6 separate regions of the Homo sapiens genome follow, and all the other regions are linked to region 3. The links are contacts of gene promoters, found by promoter capture Hi-C in blood cells and fetal thymus (Javierre and others, 2016). All regions are on one chromosome and are shown on one strand. The core of a region is centred on a gene start or on the middle of the fragment in contact, and the rest is flanking DNA. Distances in the headings are between cores, read along the strand shown.

Evidence for each region. The method cuts DNA at HindIII sites, captures the fragments that hold promoters and counts their contacts. A CHiCAGO score of 5 or more calls a contact.
Region 1: a fragment that was not itself captured here is called in contact with the fragment with the promoter of PACS2 in region 3 in 8 of 17 cell types (naive CD4 T cells, monocytes, endothelial precursors and 5 more); the score reaches 7.8 in naive CD4 T cells.
Region 2: a fragment that was not itself captured here is called in contact with the fragment with the promoter of PACS2 in region 3 in 3 of 17 cell types (naive CD4 T cells, non-activated CD4 T cells and total CD8 T cells); the score reaches 6.6 in naive CD4 T cells.
Region 4: a fragment that was not itself captured here is called in contact with the fragment with the promoter of PACS2 in region 3 in 1 of 17 cell types (non-activated CD4 T cells); the score reaches 5.1 in non-activated CD4 T cells.
Region 5: a contact is called between the fragment with the promoter of CRIP2 here and the fragment with the promoter of PACS2 in region 3, in 5 of 17 cell types (monocytes, naive CD8 T cells, neutrophils and 2 more). The highest score is 9.5, in monocytes.
Region 6: a contact is called between a fragment that was not itself captured here and the fragment with the promoter of PACS2 in region 3, in 1 of 17 cell types (endothelial precursors). The highest score is 6.2, in endothelial precursors.

Annotation. Positions count from the first base shown.
Region 1 is chr14:105,072,266-105,074,965 of GRCh38, forward strand. No RefSeq gene overlaps it. Among named protein-coding and RNA genes, the nearest start is that of GPR132, 8.2 kb to the left of the region's middle. The HindIII fragment of the contact is 5,655 bases long and covers 1-2,700 here.
Region 2 is chr14:105,183,353-105,186,052 of GRCh38, forward strand. No RefSeq gene overlaps it. Among named protein-coding and RNA genes, the nearest start is that of NUDT14, 3.4 kb to the left of the region's middle. The HindIII fragment of the contact is 4,988 bases long and covers 1-2,700 here.
Region 3 is chr14:105,313,489-105,316,188 of GRCh38, forward strand. It overlaps PACS2 (phosphofurin acidic cluster sorting protein 2), which reads left to right and starts at 1,260. Exons shown (of 25, transcript NM_001100913.3): 1 at 1,260-1,549. The coding sequence starts at 1,431. It also overlaps a transcript of BRF1 not described here. RefSeq lists silencers at 622-711, 812-1,341, 1,482-1,571, 1,802-1,881 and an enhancer at 1,626-2,277. The HindIII fragment of the contact is 4,816 bases long and covers 1-2,700 here.
Region 4 is chr14:105,537,176-105,539,875 of GRCh38, forward strand. It overlaps the pseudogene ATP5MC1P1. Among named protein-coding and RNA genes, the nearest start is that of TMEM121, 12 kb to the left of the region's middle. The HindIII fragment of the contact is 2,155 bases long and covers 241-2,395 here.
Region 5 is chr14:105,473,501-105,476,200 of GRCh38, forward strand. CRIP2 (cysteine rich protein 2) reads left to right here and starts at 1,321. Exons shown (of 8, transcript NM_001312.4): 1 at 1,321-1,405. The coding sequence starts at 1,363. RefSeq lists an enhancer at 1-295 and silencers at 324-373, 384-473, 564-713, 984-1,053, 1,234-1,343. The HindIII fragment of the contact is 47,861 bases long and covers 1-2,700 here.
Region 6 is chr14:105,121,114-105,123,813 of GRCh38, forward strand. No RefSeq gene overlaps it. Among named protein-coding and RNA genes, the nearest start is that of LINC02298, 28 kb to the left of the region's middle. The HindIII fragment of the contact is 2,298 bases long and covers 255-2,552 here.

The DNA of each region.
Region 1 (2,700 bases), core at 201-2,700, 240 kb before region 3:
TCTTGCCTAGGGAGATGAAGATGGCAAACAACCTTGCTGTTCAGCTCAGGAACTTCCAACATGCAATGGACACTTCTGTAGGAGGCATCAAGCCGTTCTTGGTGATATCTGTGTCTTCATCACGTGCTGGTTGCACGGGTGTTTAGGTAGGAACTCTCTGTGGAGCTGTGGGCATGACTGTGTCTGTGTCTTCAGTAGAGTTGAGAGGTTTGAGAGCAGTCATGAGGATTAACAGCAGATACCAGGAGGCTGCTCGCTGGTCCTGTCAACACGGCCATGTAGTCAGGATGCCAGCTCCCCCACCAAGTCAACTTTGGGGAGCTTGGCAGAGCCGTGACTCCAGGAGGCATCCCTGGACTCTCGAAGCCCCCTGCTGTGTGTGTGTCAGGGGGCTCTGAGCCCAGTGAGTGGCTGTCCCTGGGGCAGGCAGGGGGCACTTGAGGTGCCACAGAGGACACGGACCGTAGGAACCACGAGAGGGGCGGATGGCCCAGAGCCAGGGTGTGGATGACTGCCCTGGGCAGCTGGGGTCGGGAGGCAGCCTTTTCACTTCAATGAGAATGGTGTGCAGCTGGGATGGGACAGCCTCTCAGAAGGAGAGAAGGGACGTAACAGAAAGGTATGGTGGGGACACCAGAAAGCAGAGGTGCGGACAGGGCACTCCCTTGCTCTCACACCTGTGGGATCATCCCATCCCTGGCCGGCTCCAGCTCTGCCCACATTTCTCATTCCTCCTTTGGGTCTCATCAGAGTCCCCGCATCCCGCAGGAAGTGCCCCCACAGGCAGGCCTGGGTGGAGCTGGGTAGTCTTCCTCTGTGTCCCCCTCACCGCCCCCGCTTCCCAGCTCCAAGCAGGAGGCTATGTCCCTGCCGCCTCTGCCCCTACAAATGGACGGTTGCCAGCTGAAGGAATGAGCCCAATCCCGGCTCCTGCTCCCTGCCCGTGGGATCTGGGCAAGCTGCCGGACACTTTGGGCCTCAGTTTCCCCCTTACAATGTCTGCCTTTTTGTGGGGTCCTTGGGAGCTCCCTGTTGTTGGTTACACCAGTGGAGTGGACAGAGGCTCAGCCTAAGGGTGTTTCCAGAAAGGCCATCTGCTGGAGGGGGGCTGGGAGCATCCCTGGAGACAGAGAGCTTTAGACTAGCTGCTGGGGTGGGTGCGGTGGTGGGAGTGGAGCTGCTGGGGGCAGAAAAAGGGGCTTCCAAGGGGCATGCGGGTTCTGGCAAGCTGAATCCCTCACCGTAAACCATGCACCTGTCCAAGTGAAGAACTGCTCCAGGGCTCGCCTGGGCCAAGAAGGGGCTGCAGGGCACCCTACGAGGCCATGGTGGCTAAAGATAGGCTGAGCAAGCCAAGGGCCCTAAGCCGGCAGCCAAGGGTGGCCTGGGGGCTGCAGTGGGGGCCTGGGGGCTGCAGAGCCGGCCCCCAGCCTCTCTCCACCTCTGGCCTCTCAGCTCCCTGAGGGTGGTGTCCACGGCCAGCTGCTCTCCCCTCAGGGTGGAAGACCTGGGGAAGCCCCCAGTCTCAAGCTACAGCCTTGATTTCTGGAACAATCCCAGGACAGGACTCTGGCCCATCAGGTTCTGCAGCCCACCCTGGGCAGAGTGGCTCCTCTTCTGGGCAGCCCATACCTAGTGTGGTCGAGGCTGGGTTGCCCAGGCCTGGCCAGACGAATCTGGGTCCTTGTGTCCAGCTGGGCCTCGGAGCCTGCCACGCCCCCGGCACCACCACCCCCCTAATAAACTCCCCTTCCTCTACCTGTTTCCTCCACCAGCCTCTGGGTCTTGCTCCCTGCCAGGGTCCAACTCACAGCCACCTCCGCCACTGCTCCCGCGGTGACCATGCGTCCACGGCCCCCCAGGACCATGCTTGTCATTCTCTTGCCCTCTCTGCTTGGCGCGGGGTTTGGCTGCAGTCTGGGCTGCTCGATGCTCCCGGGGCAGGGGCTATTCCCCTGTGGTCTCAAGCTCTGGGCTGGCAGGGGATGCTCCGAGAACCCATCTGTTACCTGGAGGGTCCAGGAGAGATTGAAGCAGGTCCCTGGGGGCTTCCCAGAGCTGGGCTCCTGGCTGTCCCCTCTCTGGGGACTGTCACTCCCAGCTCTCCTCTCTAGGAACTGGTGGGGAGGAAGACCCTGCAGCAGTGGGAGGCCAAGGTTGGGGGGTCCACCCTCAGTGTGGGGTGTGGGTGGCTCTCTGGGGTAAGGGCTTGGTATCATGTGGCCCCCTGAACCCCAGAGCTGGCCCCTGAAAATTCTCCTCAACCGCAGAGTACACCCCTCCACCTGCAGCTCAGGGCCCCTGCCCCGAAGCTCACCCTCCTCAGAGACCCTCCCCTGGGGCCCCAAGGAAGGGCTGGGCCTGGTGGGGGCTGCATCCTTCTCATTGCCCTTCACAGCGTGGGGGGCTGATCCCCTTTGGAATGCACTTCCCTAGGGAACCCGCCTCGAGCCTGGCTGTCCCCCCAACCCCTGTGGAGCTGGGCCTTGGGGCGTGTCCACTCGCCCTGTATCTGCTCCTGCCCCCGGCGGTCCCTGGTCTCCACTGACCATCCTTTTTCGTCCCTGGGGGGGTAGCAGCAGCAGGCAAACCCCGGCCGAACAGTCCCTGTGACACTCCTTGAGGGCCTGGAGCCAGCTGGAGCCAACAGGTGCCACATCCAGGGCCAGCTTCCAGGACTCAGGAAGGAGCGACGTGCAG
Region 2 (2,700 bases), core at 119-2,618, 130 kb before region 3:
AGCGACAGCGACACTATGCTCAGCAAAAGAAGCCAGACACAAAGGCCGTGTCCTCTGCGATTTTGTGTATATGAAATGTCCAGGCCGGGCGCGGTGGCTCATGCCTGTAATCCCAGCACTTTGGGAGGCCGAGGCAGGCAGATCACGTGATGTCAAGAGTTCGAGACCAGCCTGGACAACATGGTGAAACCCTGTCTCTACTAAAAGCCAGCCGTGGTGGTGTGTGCTTGTAATCCCAGCTTCTCGGGAGGCTGAGGCACGAGAATCGCTTGCACACGGGAGGGAGAGGTTGCGGTGAGCTGAGATCTTGACACTGCATTCCAGCCTGGGTGACAGAGTAAGACTCCATCAAGAAAGGCAAAGGCAAAGGCAAAGGCAAAGCAAGGCAAGGCAAGGCAGAGAAAGGGAGGGAGGGAGACAAAAAGCAAGAAAGAAAAAAGAAAATGTCCAGAACAGGTAAATCCATGAGACGGAAAAGCAGCTGCGGACTGGTGGGGCTGAGGGCGGGAGAATGAAGAATGCTGACTAATGGGTGCCGGCTTTCCTTTCCGTTTGGGGTGAAGAAGGCATTCTGGAAGCAGGCAGTGCTGGTGGCCGCACAGCAGTATGAATGTACTGAATGCCGCTCAGTGTGCACTGTGAAGTGTTTAATGTTCTGTGAATTTCAGTTCCATTTTAAACAAATTTTATTTAGAGATAGGGTCTCATGATGTGGCTCAGGCTGGACTTGAACTCCTGGCCCCAAGCAATTCCCCCACCTCGGCCTGCTGAGTAGCTGGGACTACAGGTTCACACTACCATGCCTGGCTCGGTTCAATTTTTTTTTTTTTAAAAAAAGGAAAAACCAGTGTCACTGAGGCTATTCAGGAACATTCCATGCTGTCTATGACCACAAGGCCACTGCCCACACGTGGAGCTGAGGACAGGGCAAGTGAGGCCTGCTGTCCCTCCGAGATGGAAAGGGAGAAAAGGCAGAAGCAGCCCAGGCACTTTACCAGTTCCTGCTGTGCACTGGGGTGGCTCGAACAGGTGATTCGGGGCAGGCCTGATGTCACAAGAAGTTAGGACAGGCATGCCAAGAGGCAGAGGACAGCCTCCCCGAGGACACGACACTCCCCAGAAACCCGAAGATCCAAGGCAGGAGAAAGGAAGCTGTCCTGGCAGGAGGAGACCGAGGCCAGAAGAGGCGTTGTGGCCCTGGGGGCAGCTCCCTTGGCCTGTGCTTGGCACATCCCCTGGGGCCACTGGAAGTCTCGGAGGGGTTGGGCAGGGCAGGTGGTCAGATGCCCCTCTGGGAGGTCACCGTGGCTGCCTGGGGCCGGGGGAGGAGGAGACTGGTCCGAGGGCCTTTGGCTGTTGTCCAGAGTGGTGGCTGTGCAGAGGATGGCTTCGTTCCCCATGGAAGCAGGTGCAGGAGGAGGAGGAGGAGCTTGATTTGGGGAGGGGCTCCAGGAGGGGGAATGAGAGGACTCCGTGTGGCCAGGTGGCCTGAGAGCCACAGTGGAGAGCTCTGAAAAGCCACCTCTGGCTTTGGCAGTGTGGAGGCTTCAAAGACCCTGCTGAGCATAGTGGCAGAGGCCCCTGCAGATGCCCTGTAGCGGGGCCAGAGGGCATGTGGGGTGAGAGCACCAGTGTCAGCTCCCCAGGGCTGCCAAGACAAACCACTGCCAACCCAGCAGCTGGGAACAGCACGGCCATGGCCTTCCAGCCCTGGGGGACGGGTGTCCAAAACGCATCCCACCGGGTGAAGGTCAAGGGTCACAGGGCGGCTCCTTCTGGGGGCTCCAGGGGAAGATCCATTCCTTGTCTTCTCCAGCTTCCGGAGGCGGCCCCCGCCCCCTCCTCACCTTCAAGGCCAGCAGAGCGCCCCTCCGTCCTCCCCCGACTCTGCCTCCGTCCTCGCGTCTCCACCCTCCTGCTCCCTCTTCTGAGGTCCTTGTGACCACAATTTAGGGCCCCCCCGGGTCATCCGGGGCCATCCGGGGCCATCTCCCACCTCGGGTCCTTCTGTTAGTCAAACCTGCTAAGTCCCCTTTGCCACAGAAGGTCCATACTCGCAGGTTCTGGGGATCCAGGTGTGGACTCTGGGGAGGATGCGTCGGGAGGGCATCACCACCAGGGCAGGACCCTGTGGCGCCAGGATCTGCAGCCTGGGGCCTCGCCCCGCAGCAAGTGGGCGGGTTTCTTGCAGGACACCTAGGAGACCGCTGTGGGCTTCTGTCCCCCTTCCTCTGTAAGGGGAGTGAGGCAAGGGCCCCTGCCAAGGATGAGATGGGAGGGGAGGGAGGCGAAGTGGCCCCTGTTGGCAGGGGGCTTGGGTGCGGGCTCCGAGGGGGCCTGGGGAGCAAGGCTTCCTGGTGGCACCGGGCTGGGGATGCTCCTGGGCCATGCTGGAGGCAGGGCAGGTACAAGGGGGGCCCCTGGGCTCCTCCATGGCTCAGCTCCTTCCCAGTAAGGTCACAGGCAGCAGGTGGATTGGAGAGTTGAGGACACTGAGCAGGGAGCTACAGGCATGACAGAGCCCAGGTGGGGGTGCGGGGGGTGGGGAGGACGTGGGGGAGTCAGGGGCGGGAGGGGTGCAGGAAAGCCAGGGGCGGGGATTCCGAGGTAAGTGCAGAGGGAGTGTCCCGAGAGAGGCTGAGTTGAGGGGAAGCTGGAGGAGGATCAGGATGGGGGGTCAGGAGGTCGGGGGTGTGGGGC
Region 3 (2,700 bases), core at 10-2,509:
CGAAGTGGGACCCTGACTTTAAGCAGTCGCAGCTGTTTGCAGTTCTAGATACAGGAGTTACAGCTGGAGGCTGAGCTCTCTCAACGGAGGAAGCAGCGGCATGAGGGCCTTTGCAGAAGGAGCTGACGGGGCACTGGGGTGGCAAGCCCCGTGGGCCAGGAAAGAAACCAGCTCCAGGTCAATTTGCTCGGGCTGGATTTGTTTCAGTAAAACTACTTGTAGACAAGACACAGGGCGAAGAGAAAAGCAACTGTAAACTAACTGTGAAACAAGGAAACAGAAGAGAGGCCAGAAAACCGTTTCCTAAATCTCGGCTTGGCATCTGGTGCTGGACCACAGCCGCTGCCAAACAGATGGGGGAAGCACCCTCCCTGAGCCCCAGAGCCTACACGTCGGGCCCCAGCGGCTCTAGCCATTGCCTCCTCTTTGCTTGGGTCCCCAAGTTCACTGTTAACCCCAGGGCCAGGAGCCAGCCTTGGCCCCAGACATTTGTTCTCCATTGTCCTGAGCACAACGCTGAAAAGCGGCGCTGAATAAGGATGCTGGGACGCAAAGAGGGCGCCCGGGGTCATCTGGAGCCCTGGAGGCTAAGCTCGGCAGCCTGGCGCCCCGAGTGGCTTCGAGTCCCCGCGACCGCCGCCAGGCCCGGCCACCTCCTTGCCACCTCCCTGCGTCCCGGGGAACCCACGCAGGGGGGCGCGAGGGAGGGGCTCGGGGACGGGCGGGGCCCGCACAGCCGGGCCAACCCAGCGGGGGTCGGCAGGAGACAAGGGGCGGCGAGGGCAGGGGGGCGGGGAGACTCGGGGCATGGCGGGGTGGAGGCGGGAAAGTGTCGAGGCCGGGGAATCCGCGCGTGGGGAGGTGGGCATCGCCAGGGCGACGATGAGCTTTCCTTAGGGGGCGGCGCCTGAAGCTGGCCGGGACCCGGTGGACCCCCACGACTCTCCCGGCCCTTGCCCGCGGCTCCCGGGGGGCGGGGCGGGGCGCCCCGGGCGGGGTCTGTGCGCAGGCGCGTGAGTGCGCGCTCTCGCGCACCGGCGGGCGGGGACGCCCCGTGAGGCGCCGCCGGAGGAAGCGCGCGCGCACCTCACTTCCGGCGCGCGCTGCGCCGGCGGCGATTGGACCCGAGGCGGCGAGCTGGCGCCCCGCCCAGCCAATCGGCGGCGCCGGCGCGGGTCGGAGGGCGCCGGGCGCGCGCGGGGCGGCCGGGGGCGCGCGGGGCGCGGGCGGGGCGCCGGGCGGGGCGGGGCGGAGCGGCCGCAGCTCGTCGCCGCCCGCGGGCCTGTCCGACGCCGGGGCCCGGCCCGTCCCCTCCGCCGCCCGGCAGCCATGTGACCGCGCCGCCGCCCTCCGCGCGCCCGGCCCGCCCGCCGCGCGTCCGCGGCCCGGCCGCAGCCCCAGGCCGCCGAGGGAGCGGCGGGGCCGGCGCCATGGCCGAGCGAGGCCGCCTCGGCCTCCCCGGCGCGCCCGGCGCGCTCAACACGCCCGTGCCCATGAACCTGTTCGCCACCTGGGAGGTGGACGGCTCCAGCCCCAGCTGCGTGCCCAGGTACGCGCCGCCCGCCGCGCTTTGTTCCCGCCGGGCACCTGCTGGGGGTGTCCTGGCCGCGGCCTCTGCGCGCCCCATCCCCGGCCCGGGTCCCCCAGCGGAGCCCAGGTCGCCCCCCGCGCCCCCGCCCGCCGGTTCGACGCGTGCAGCCGCCGCCCCCCCGCAGCTCCGGCAAGCGCGGCCCCAGCCCCCCAGGTCCCGAGCACCGGGGGCCGCGCTCAGCTTCCGAGGACCCGGTGCTGCTCAGACCCGGCGGGACCTTGGGGCTCCCGGGCGGCGCTCACCTGGCTCGCCGCAACCGCACCTGCACACCTGCCTCAATGCGGTGCCGGCCGGGGTGACGAGGGTGCTTCCTCTCTCGGGTACCACACGCTTCCTTTCGCGTTCGGCGACACTGTCAGACCTCGGCCTGGGAGCGACCCCCGGCGCACGGGGCGCGCAGGACTCGGTTGTATCCTCCGTCCAGCGCGCGGTGGAGATGCCCTGTCCTGCGGGGCGGGGTCGTCCTCGCGGGTACCTGGTTGGCGCTGTCTCTCATTTAGAGGCGTCGCCAAGCCAGTACTGCTATTTGCGCCTCCCAGTTGATCTTGCCATTGCGGAAGACTGGCTGTTCTGCACTTGGTAGGGGGGCGCCCGGTCGCCCAGCGGTAACGATTGGACAGGGTTTACCCTCCGGCCATAGCCCAGCCTTCCTTGGACTTGCAGCTTCCCTGAGTCTCCTGCTCAGTTTGAAACTTTTGTAATTTCTTCGTGACTTGGTAGTTCCTGCTCAGGAAGCTCCCAGGCTAAGGAGGAGAGAGACACGCTCTCCGGAAAAGTTCTGGTTCTAGAATAGACAGCAGGCGAGAAGAGGAGGCGGTTGGGGGTAGTGAGAGTTCTCCCTGGGGAGATGGGAGGGTGAGCGGACCTTCCAGGCACTGGAAGTGGCCAGTATGCCTGGAGGGGACCCCACGTGGCATTGAGTTGTTCCACCCCTAGTCAGCTGCAGGTGGGCCTCTCCGTGCTTTCCTGTGGCTCCCACAGCCTGCATCTCTGAGCGTGGTGTTGGAGTTGCAGAGCCGCTGGACAGTGGGGCTTGCCCTCCTGGAGCGCAGGGTTGGGACCTCGGGGCTTTGGTTTTGCTGAGTGGACAGGAAGGATGCCCACCCGGC
Region 4 (2,700 bases), core at 68-2,567, 220 kb after region 3:
AGACACAGCCTGATTAGACCCGTGGTACAACAGCGGACCAGAGCTGGAGAGGTGAGTAATGCCCGGGGGTCTGCATTTTCTGTCTGCACTCCCACTGCCCTGCAGCACCTGCGGGCCCACAGCACTCGCCCGGCTGAAGGTGACCTAAGGTGACCGACTCACTTTTACTCATTGCTTATGAAATAAGCTGAATGTGGAGATCATCGGAAACATGTTTCAAAGTGCGTGAGCCTTGAGGAAAGCTTTCTCCCGCCCTCATGAGTATCCGCCCCAGGGGGTGCTTTCCTCGAGAGCTGGTCCGTGTTGCGTTCCCACAGTGAACACTTTCAAGGCTGCTGCGGGAAGTTGCACAGAAACGGCTGGTGGGCCTGGAGGGGATGGTGAGGCGCAGTGGGCCTGTGTACCGGATGCCAAATCCACAGCATGGGAGGCAGGGCCCACTGCAGGAGCCACACAGCAGCTGTGTGCTGCTCTCCCACCTGCAACCTGCACCTGTGGGGTGCACCTGAGTGACCCCGGCCCCCCGGGGTGTCTCTGGGATGCCTCCTAGGAGGAGAGGCTCCACGCCTGGAGGGAGACAGGTATCACACAGGTGCGTGGGGTGGAGTGTGATGCAGGGAGGTTGGGGCAGGGCCACACAGAGAGACCCCACTCAGGCAGGCCTTGGGTCAGGGTAGGCCTCACCAAGTGATATTATGTTGGGACTGGACCGTGGCCAAGGCTGGCCTGCAGGCAGGGGGCACACATATTCCTGGCAGGTGAGGCTGCCCACAAAGCTCACCTGCCTGAGAACCCTACCTGGCTGGGGCATGCGGGAGCCTCTGGACCTTCGCGCCGGCGGAGCCTGCAGTGTCGCCAGATGGCCACAAGGGGGCTCCCGAGCCCGGCTCTGGGTCCCTTTGAGGAGGGAGCCGCGGGACCCGGCTGTGAGACCGGGACCTGCCAGTGGTGCCCCGACCCCCCGACCCCACAGGACCCTGCGCGGCCAAAGGCTGAGGCTGCCCCAGCCCCAGGCTGTGCTGATGCCCCTGACCAGAACCCGAGCCCGATTCTGCTCACTGAACACTCATCTGCTCCCTTGCCTCTGCCTGCCCCGGCAGCGAGGGCCTGGCCAGTGGGTTCGTATCAACTCCCACGTCACCTCCCGTGTCATCTGTGTGTCACCTCCATGTCACCTCCTGCATCAGCTGTGTCACCTCCCACATCACCTGCATCAGCTGTGTCACCTCCCACATCCCCTGCATCAGCTCTGTGTCACCTCCCACATCACCTGCATCAGCTCTGTGTCACCTCCCGCATCACCTGCATCAGCTCTGTGTCACCTCCCGCATCACCTGCATCAGCTCTGTGTCACCTCCCGCATCACCTCCTGCGCCACCTTTGTGTCACCTCCCGGCTGACCATGGCCCAGCAGCATCTCCCTGTTGCAGCGTCCGGAGAGGCTGCGGTTGCACGGGGTGGGCTAAGGAAGGTGGGGCTGCCTCAGCCTGGGCCCTGAGTGAGCTCTGGAGTGGATCCCACCTCCCCACCAAAGCCCAAGCAGGAGACAACCCTTTGCTGCTGAAGCCACTGAGCGCTTGGGGCTGTTTGTTTCGGCCTCGTCCCCGACGGACGTGTCTCCCACAGTCCCAGGCCCTGAGTGCAGGTCCACACTGAACCTTGACGCTCATCGCAGACTGACCCTGGCTTGCCCTGGGTCACACTCGGGCTGAGGCCCCGACAGCCTGGCCCGGTCGAAGCTCCCCGGCTTATCTCACTCACTGTTGTCCAGGGCCCAGCCTCACGGTGACATCTGCCACAAGAAGGCTGGGACTCTGTCCCACTTGTGTTCAGGAACGAGAGACCCTGACTTGGTGTCTGTTATCAACACATTACAAACATCACTGGGCATTACAAAAGATTTCTGAGGGCTGGGTGCTGTGGCTCACCCCTGCAATCCCAGCACTTTGGGAGGCTGAGGTGGGAGGAGGATTGCTTGAGCCCAGGAGTTTGAGACCAGCCTGGGCAATGTAGTGAGACCTTGTCTCTAAAAAAATTTTAAAAATTAGCCAGGCATGGTTGCGCGTGCCTGTGGTCCCAGCTACTCAGGAGGCTGAGGCAGGAGGATCACCTGAGCCCAGGAGGTCAAGGCTACAGCAAGCAGAGATGGTGCCACTGCACTCCAGCCTGGACAACATAGCAAGACCCTGTCTCAAGAAAACCCACACAAAACACAAAGAAAGAAATAAAAATCCAGATTTCAAATAATTTAAACTTATTTATCCAACACAAAGCAGTTCTTCATGGCACACTTTAAACTTCGAAATTCTTTGCTCTCCCCATGCTTGGCTGATTGGGTCTGGGGCAGGCGATGGTGCTCACTGGATCCAGTTTCTGACAAATCTGGATTGAGACAAGCTTCAGAACTGGCCCAGATGATCAATTTTCATATAAGTTAAGGTGTCCTCCTTGTTCCACAGCTTTTAGTGATTTTTTTTTGTTTTTTTTTTTTGAGACGGAGTCTTGCTTTCTCGCCAGGCTGGAGTGCAGTGGTGCGATCTTGGCTCATTGCAACCTCCGCCTCCTGGGTTCAAGCGATTCTCCTGCCTCAGCCTTCTGAGTAGCCGGGAGTACAGGCACATGCCACCACACTCGGCTAATTTTTTGTATTTTTAGTAGAGATGGGGTTTCACCGTGTTAGCCAGGATGGTCTCGATCTCC
Region 5 (2,700 bases), core at 71-2,570, 160 kb after region 3:
CAGAGGGAACAGGTAGGTCTCCGTGTCCAGCCCACAGCCTCCAAGACACAGGGGGAAGGGTGTCCAGAGTCAGCTGCCCCCATAGGGCCTGATCACTGGGCTTCTGGGATCTGCCTGTCTCCCAGGCCGACGCTCAGCTGGGGCCAGAAGGCTCAGAGAAGGGCCCATGGGGACAGAGCACCAGGAAGCCCGTGGGTGCGGAGGTTCCCCACCTGGGGCCAGGCTCTACGGGGCTCTAGGGCGGAGGCACTGTGGTGAGGCGTGGTCAGGCACGCCCTGGTTGGGAGGAGGCCAGAGTGGGGGTGTGGGGGTGCGGTGACTGGCATGACCCCTCAATCTCCCGCCTGACCCCTCGAGGTCAGGCCCTGGGCCCCCAGGCACGCAGCTGGTCCTGGGCGGTGCGGGAGAAGGGACTGGAGTGTCAGCCCCAGCCCGGGGCACAGAGGGCACGCCCACTCCTTCCCCTCCTTCCCTTCCTAACTCCTCACCGCCTCCCCGGCCGCCCCCTGGGTGGAAGTGCTTGGGGTGGACGCCTTAAGCGCGGATCCCTCGGCGCTGGTGCCCGCCGCCCCTTCCCTGCCTGGGAGGCAGACGCAGACCTCCCCACACCCCCTACCAGCAGCTTCTCGAGCTGTTTCTGGAGGTGGCGGCGCCTTCCTTCCTGAGCCCTGCCCTCCACCCAAGGAGCCTTCAGCACCACAGACAGTGTTGGGGCGGGGCGCGGGCGGGGGCGGAGCGGGACATGGAGACCCGGACAGGGCTGGGGGCCGTGCCCGCCGGGAATCTGACTCCGCTCCCGCGGCGCGGCTGTTGCTATGGAAACCGAGCAACAAAGGGAAGCGGGACAGGCGCCGCGCGCGGCGGGGTGGGGGTGGGGTTCTCCCGGAGCCTGCGACCCCTTCCCGCGGCGGAGCGCAGCCTGGGCGCCCAGGGCCGGGAGTGTTGGACCCCTAGGCCCAAGTCACTAGGGCTCCCCGAGAGCCGAGGGCCAGGCTCCCCGCACCCTGCCCGCCGCCCCGGGGACGGCCCGGCCAGGCGGCCCCGACGTCGCCATGGAAACAGCCGGGGCGCGGGCGGCGCCGCGGTCGCCCGGGCGGGCCCCTGTAGACGCCACCTCCGGCGCGAGGGGCCCGGGGGCGCCAGGCCTGGCCCGGCTGCCCCGCACCCGCCACCCCCGGCAGGTGCGCCCCGCCCCCGCGGCGCCCCCAGGCGGCCCCCAGCCCGGGGGACGGGTTATCGAGGCCCCGCCCCGGCCGCGGAGCCAATGGGCGCGCGGACAGCCGGGCAGGCGGGGCTGGGCGCGGGCGGCGGCGGCCCGGAGGAGAACGGGCGGAGGGCGCGGGCCGACCGGGCGCACCGACCATGGCCTCCAAATGCCCCAAGTGCGACAAGACCGTGTACTTCGGTGAGTGCGTGCCCGCTCCCGGCCCGCTCGGTGCATCCCGCCGCCCTTCGCGGCCAGTCCCGCGCCGCAGAGCCGCGGCGTAACTCGGGGTGCGCCCGGCCCCGGCCCCGGACCGAGGATGCGCGTCCCGGAGGCTGGCTGGCCGCGCTGCCCAAGCGGCTAAAGCCAAAGGGTGGGGCTGCGCGAAAGCGGGGGCGGTCACGCCCGAACCCCGAAGCGGCTTGTGGGGGCGGGGCAGGGACCACCCGGGCGGGGCTTGTGGTGCCCCGGGATGAGGCCAGTGTTTGGGGGAGCGCTCGGGGATCCGCGGACGCATCCCGGTTCCTCGGACGGCGCCGGGCGGGGCGGGGCAGGGCGTGGCTGTACGCCCCGGGTGCGTCCCGCGCGCTCCCGTGGGCCTGGGCCCTTTCTCCTGGACCCCCTACACCCGCTTCCCCCGGGAACAAGTGGCCGGGAACAGTGACCCCCAGCTCCCACTCCGGGCTCCGCTGAGCTGGGCTGGGCCAGGTTTGGACTCTGTCGGGATTCAGTCCAAGCGGGGGCGACCTTGGCCTCTGCCTCCTGCTTGTCCCGACGCATTCCCTTGGCGCCAGTTCCCCCAGGAGTTTCACACGGGGGTAGGGTGGGGGCGGGTGTGACACGCGAGTTCCCGCGAACGTGAGAGGGACCTTGTGCTCAAGCAGCCCAGGTGTCCAGGATCCCTGCCTCCTCAAGGTCAGAACAGCCCTGGACAGGATGCAGGTGGTGGCGGGAAGAGGGATGTCTCGCAAGGCGGCCCTCGGTCTAGCCCCTCCGGCAGGCGCGCTCCCCCCGTCTGGGCTTACTCACTCTCTGGGCCTGGGTGCGCCCTTCCTACCCCCTTCCTCCTGGCTGATTCGCTGCCCAGCTTTCTCCAGGGTGGTAAGGTCCCTGCCCACCTACCCACCAGCTGCTGCACGAAGGGGGGCAGACTTAGTGAAGCAGAGAGGAGGGCCGGGACCAACAGGGCGCCTGCCCTGGTCGCCCCATACCCAGAATGCGGCCAGGCTGCAGGGAAGGCCGCCACTGGGCTTCCCCGGCTCACAGGCTGGAGGGGGTTGAGGGGAGGTTGTATTTTGCCCGTCCCAGAGGGGAGGGACCGGATTTGGCCTGGAGTGCTTCTGGCGTGGCTGGGAGCCGAGGGGCTTCCGGCTGCCTCTCCTGGAGCCCGCTCAGCCCTCAGTCTCTGTCCCAGCGAGGGCTGTCTCTGTAAGGCTTAGGGTGGGAGACGGTCCCCAGGGCCCTTCTGCAGTCCAACTGCCCATGACTTTACCCCA
Region 6 (2,700 bases), core at 154-2,653, 190 kb before region 3:
TGGGGGAGGTGATTACAGGGCAGGCATGAAGTTAGGGGGTGCATTCTGCAAGACTGCCCTTACTTCTGACACCCACTGTAGGTTTGGAGGGTTCCCAAGATCACTCTGTGGTTCAACAATTTACCAGAAGGGCCCACAGAACTCACTGAAAGCTGTTATACTCGTGTTTATGGTTGATTACAGCAAAAAGATACGGATTAAAAGCAGCCAAAGGAAGAGACACTGGGGTCAGGGGCCAGCAGACACCATGTGCAAGCTTCTAGGTGTCCTCTCCCTACAGAGCTGTAGATGGTGTGACTTCTTGGTATTGATGTGTGACAGTCTGCATGGAGTATGGCCAAGCAGGGAAGCTCACTTGAGCCTCAGTGTCCAAAGTCTTTATTGGACTCCATGGTTGATTGCCTTTGTGGCCAACCTCAGTCTCTGGTCCCTCTGGACATTAGGCAATCCCATGTGACCTGAGACTCCCACCATAAATCACATTGTAAGCGTAGACTCTCTGGTGTGGCCCAAAACCTCCACAGAAACAAAGACCCTCTTATTAGGCTGGACATCCTAAGGACCTGGAGATTAGCACCCAGGAGCTGAAGGCAAAGACCGGACTTCCTGTTGGGCAAGGTTAAAAATCTGTACCACTCACCTGTCAAGCAAAGGAAGGCCAGTCTACAAAGGAAGGCCAGTGTAGACACAGTCTACACAGGGGAGGAGAGGCTACTTTGCTAGCCAGGGAGTCTGGAGGGCGGTTGGAAGTTCAAGTTCATCAGACTCATTCCAACCCAGGTAATATTCTCATTCTGATTCTCAGGACCCTATTCTTCTCCAGATGATGCAAACTTTCACATACATGACCTGGTGAGGCTCTAGATTCAGCTTTCCTTGGACTTCTGCAACCTCCAAGGCCAATTTGGGGTGACTTTCAACTAAGTCAGTGCTGAGGCTACACGAGGTAAGTGGTTAGGGCCACGATAGATGCTCCATTTTTGGTCATTTGTAAATGAAGACGTTTGGCAATAGGATTGGCACTGACTTTCATTAAGTTCCCCAGTGCAGGCATCAGCAGCTGCCCAATCCTCATTCCTCATAGTCATCATTCACACCTGTGCTAAAAAGGTGAGAGCAATGGCCACATTTCTTCACCATCCCCGGATCCACACTCTGTACCACGTGGCCTTGCAATGCTTCCTACCAACAGGGGTAGTCTCTTTCCCCATGTCTTGTATCTGGTGCGTGGACCCCAGAACTGTGTCCACAGAGTGTGTTAGACACGTCACGTAACAGTCCCAGGACTGGATCTCAAGACCCCTTGAGCAAGTGCAGTCCTGTCCACTGAAAATTACAAAATGTTGTTGAAAGAAGATCTAAATGGAGAGACATCCCATGTTCATGGATTGGGCAACTCAACACGGTTAAGATAGCGATAATTCCCACATTCATCTACAGATTGATTGTGGTCCTTACCAAAATTCCAGCTGGCTTTATTTTGTTTTGTTTTGTTTGCTTTCCTAGAAATTGGCATGCCAATAAAGTACCCCAAATAGCCAATATAATCTTTAAAAAAGGTCAAAGCTGGAAGACTCACACGTCCTAATTTCAAAACTTACTACAAAGCCACAGTAATCAAGACAATGTGGTACTAGAAATATGATAGACATACAGATAAACGGAAAAGAACTGAAAATCCATAAGTAATCTTTTACATTTATGGTCAATCGATTTTTCAACAAGGAGCCAGCCCAGAGAATGCAAGAAAACACTCAAATCTTATATATTCCCTAAAGGACTTATATTAACAATATGTGTTGCCTGTATCATACAACTAAGTAAGAAGACAAACATCCCAATTTAAAATGGCTGAAAGATTTGAAGAGCTATTTCTCCAAAGGACATATTCAGATGCTTTCAGAAATGCTTGGCAACATTAGTTAATAGAGAAATGCAAATTATAACCACAAGATACCACTAGGCACACCCTGGGGTGCCTGTAATCAGAAAGACGGATAAGAGTTGGAGAGGCTGTGGAGAAGCTGGAACCCTCGCGCATTGGTAACAGGAATGGAAAATGGTGCAGCAACTGCTTTGGAGACAGTTTGGCAGGTTCTTGGATTGTTAAACATAGAGTCACCATATGGCCCAGCAATCCCACTCCTAGGTATCCACCCAAGAGAAATGGAAACATATCTGCACATAGAAACTTGTACATGAATATTTATAGCAGCTTTATTCATAGTAGCCTCCAAACTGGAAATAACCCAAGTGTCTATCCACTGGTGAATGGAGAAACAGTGTGGTCTATTCATGCAGTGGGATATGATATGGCAATAAAAAGGAACAAAGTTCTGATACATGGAATAACATCACATTATGCTGAGTGGAAGCCATCAGACACAAAAGACCACAGATCTTGTGATCCCACTGATACAAAATGTCTGGAAAAGGCAAATCTACAGAGACAGGAAATGAATGGAATGGTTCAGTCCCCGGGGACCATGGGTGGGAACAGGGAGTGACTGCAAGGGTGTGCAGCCTCCTTTTGGGGTGACGGAGGTGTTCTAAGCTTAGCGTCGTTACCATTGCATGACTCTCCATTTGTGAAAAGTAATTGAATTGTATGCCAGAAATGAGTGCATTTTATCAGACGGGATCAGGCGCGTTCAGGGTGGTATGGCCGTAGATAAGAGTGTATTTTATGGTATGTGAAAT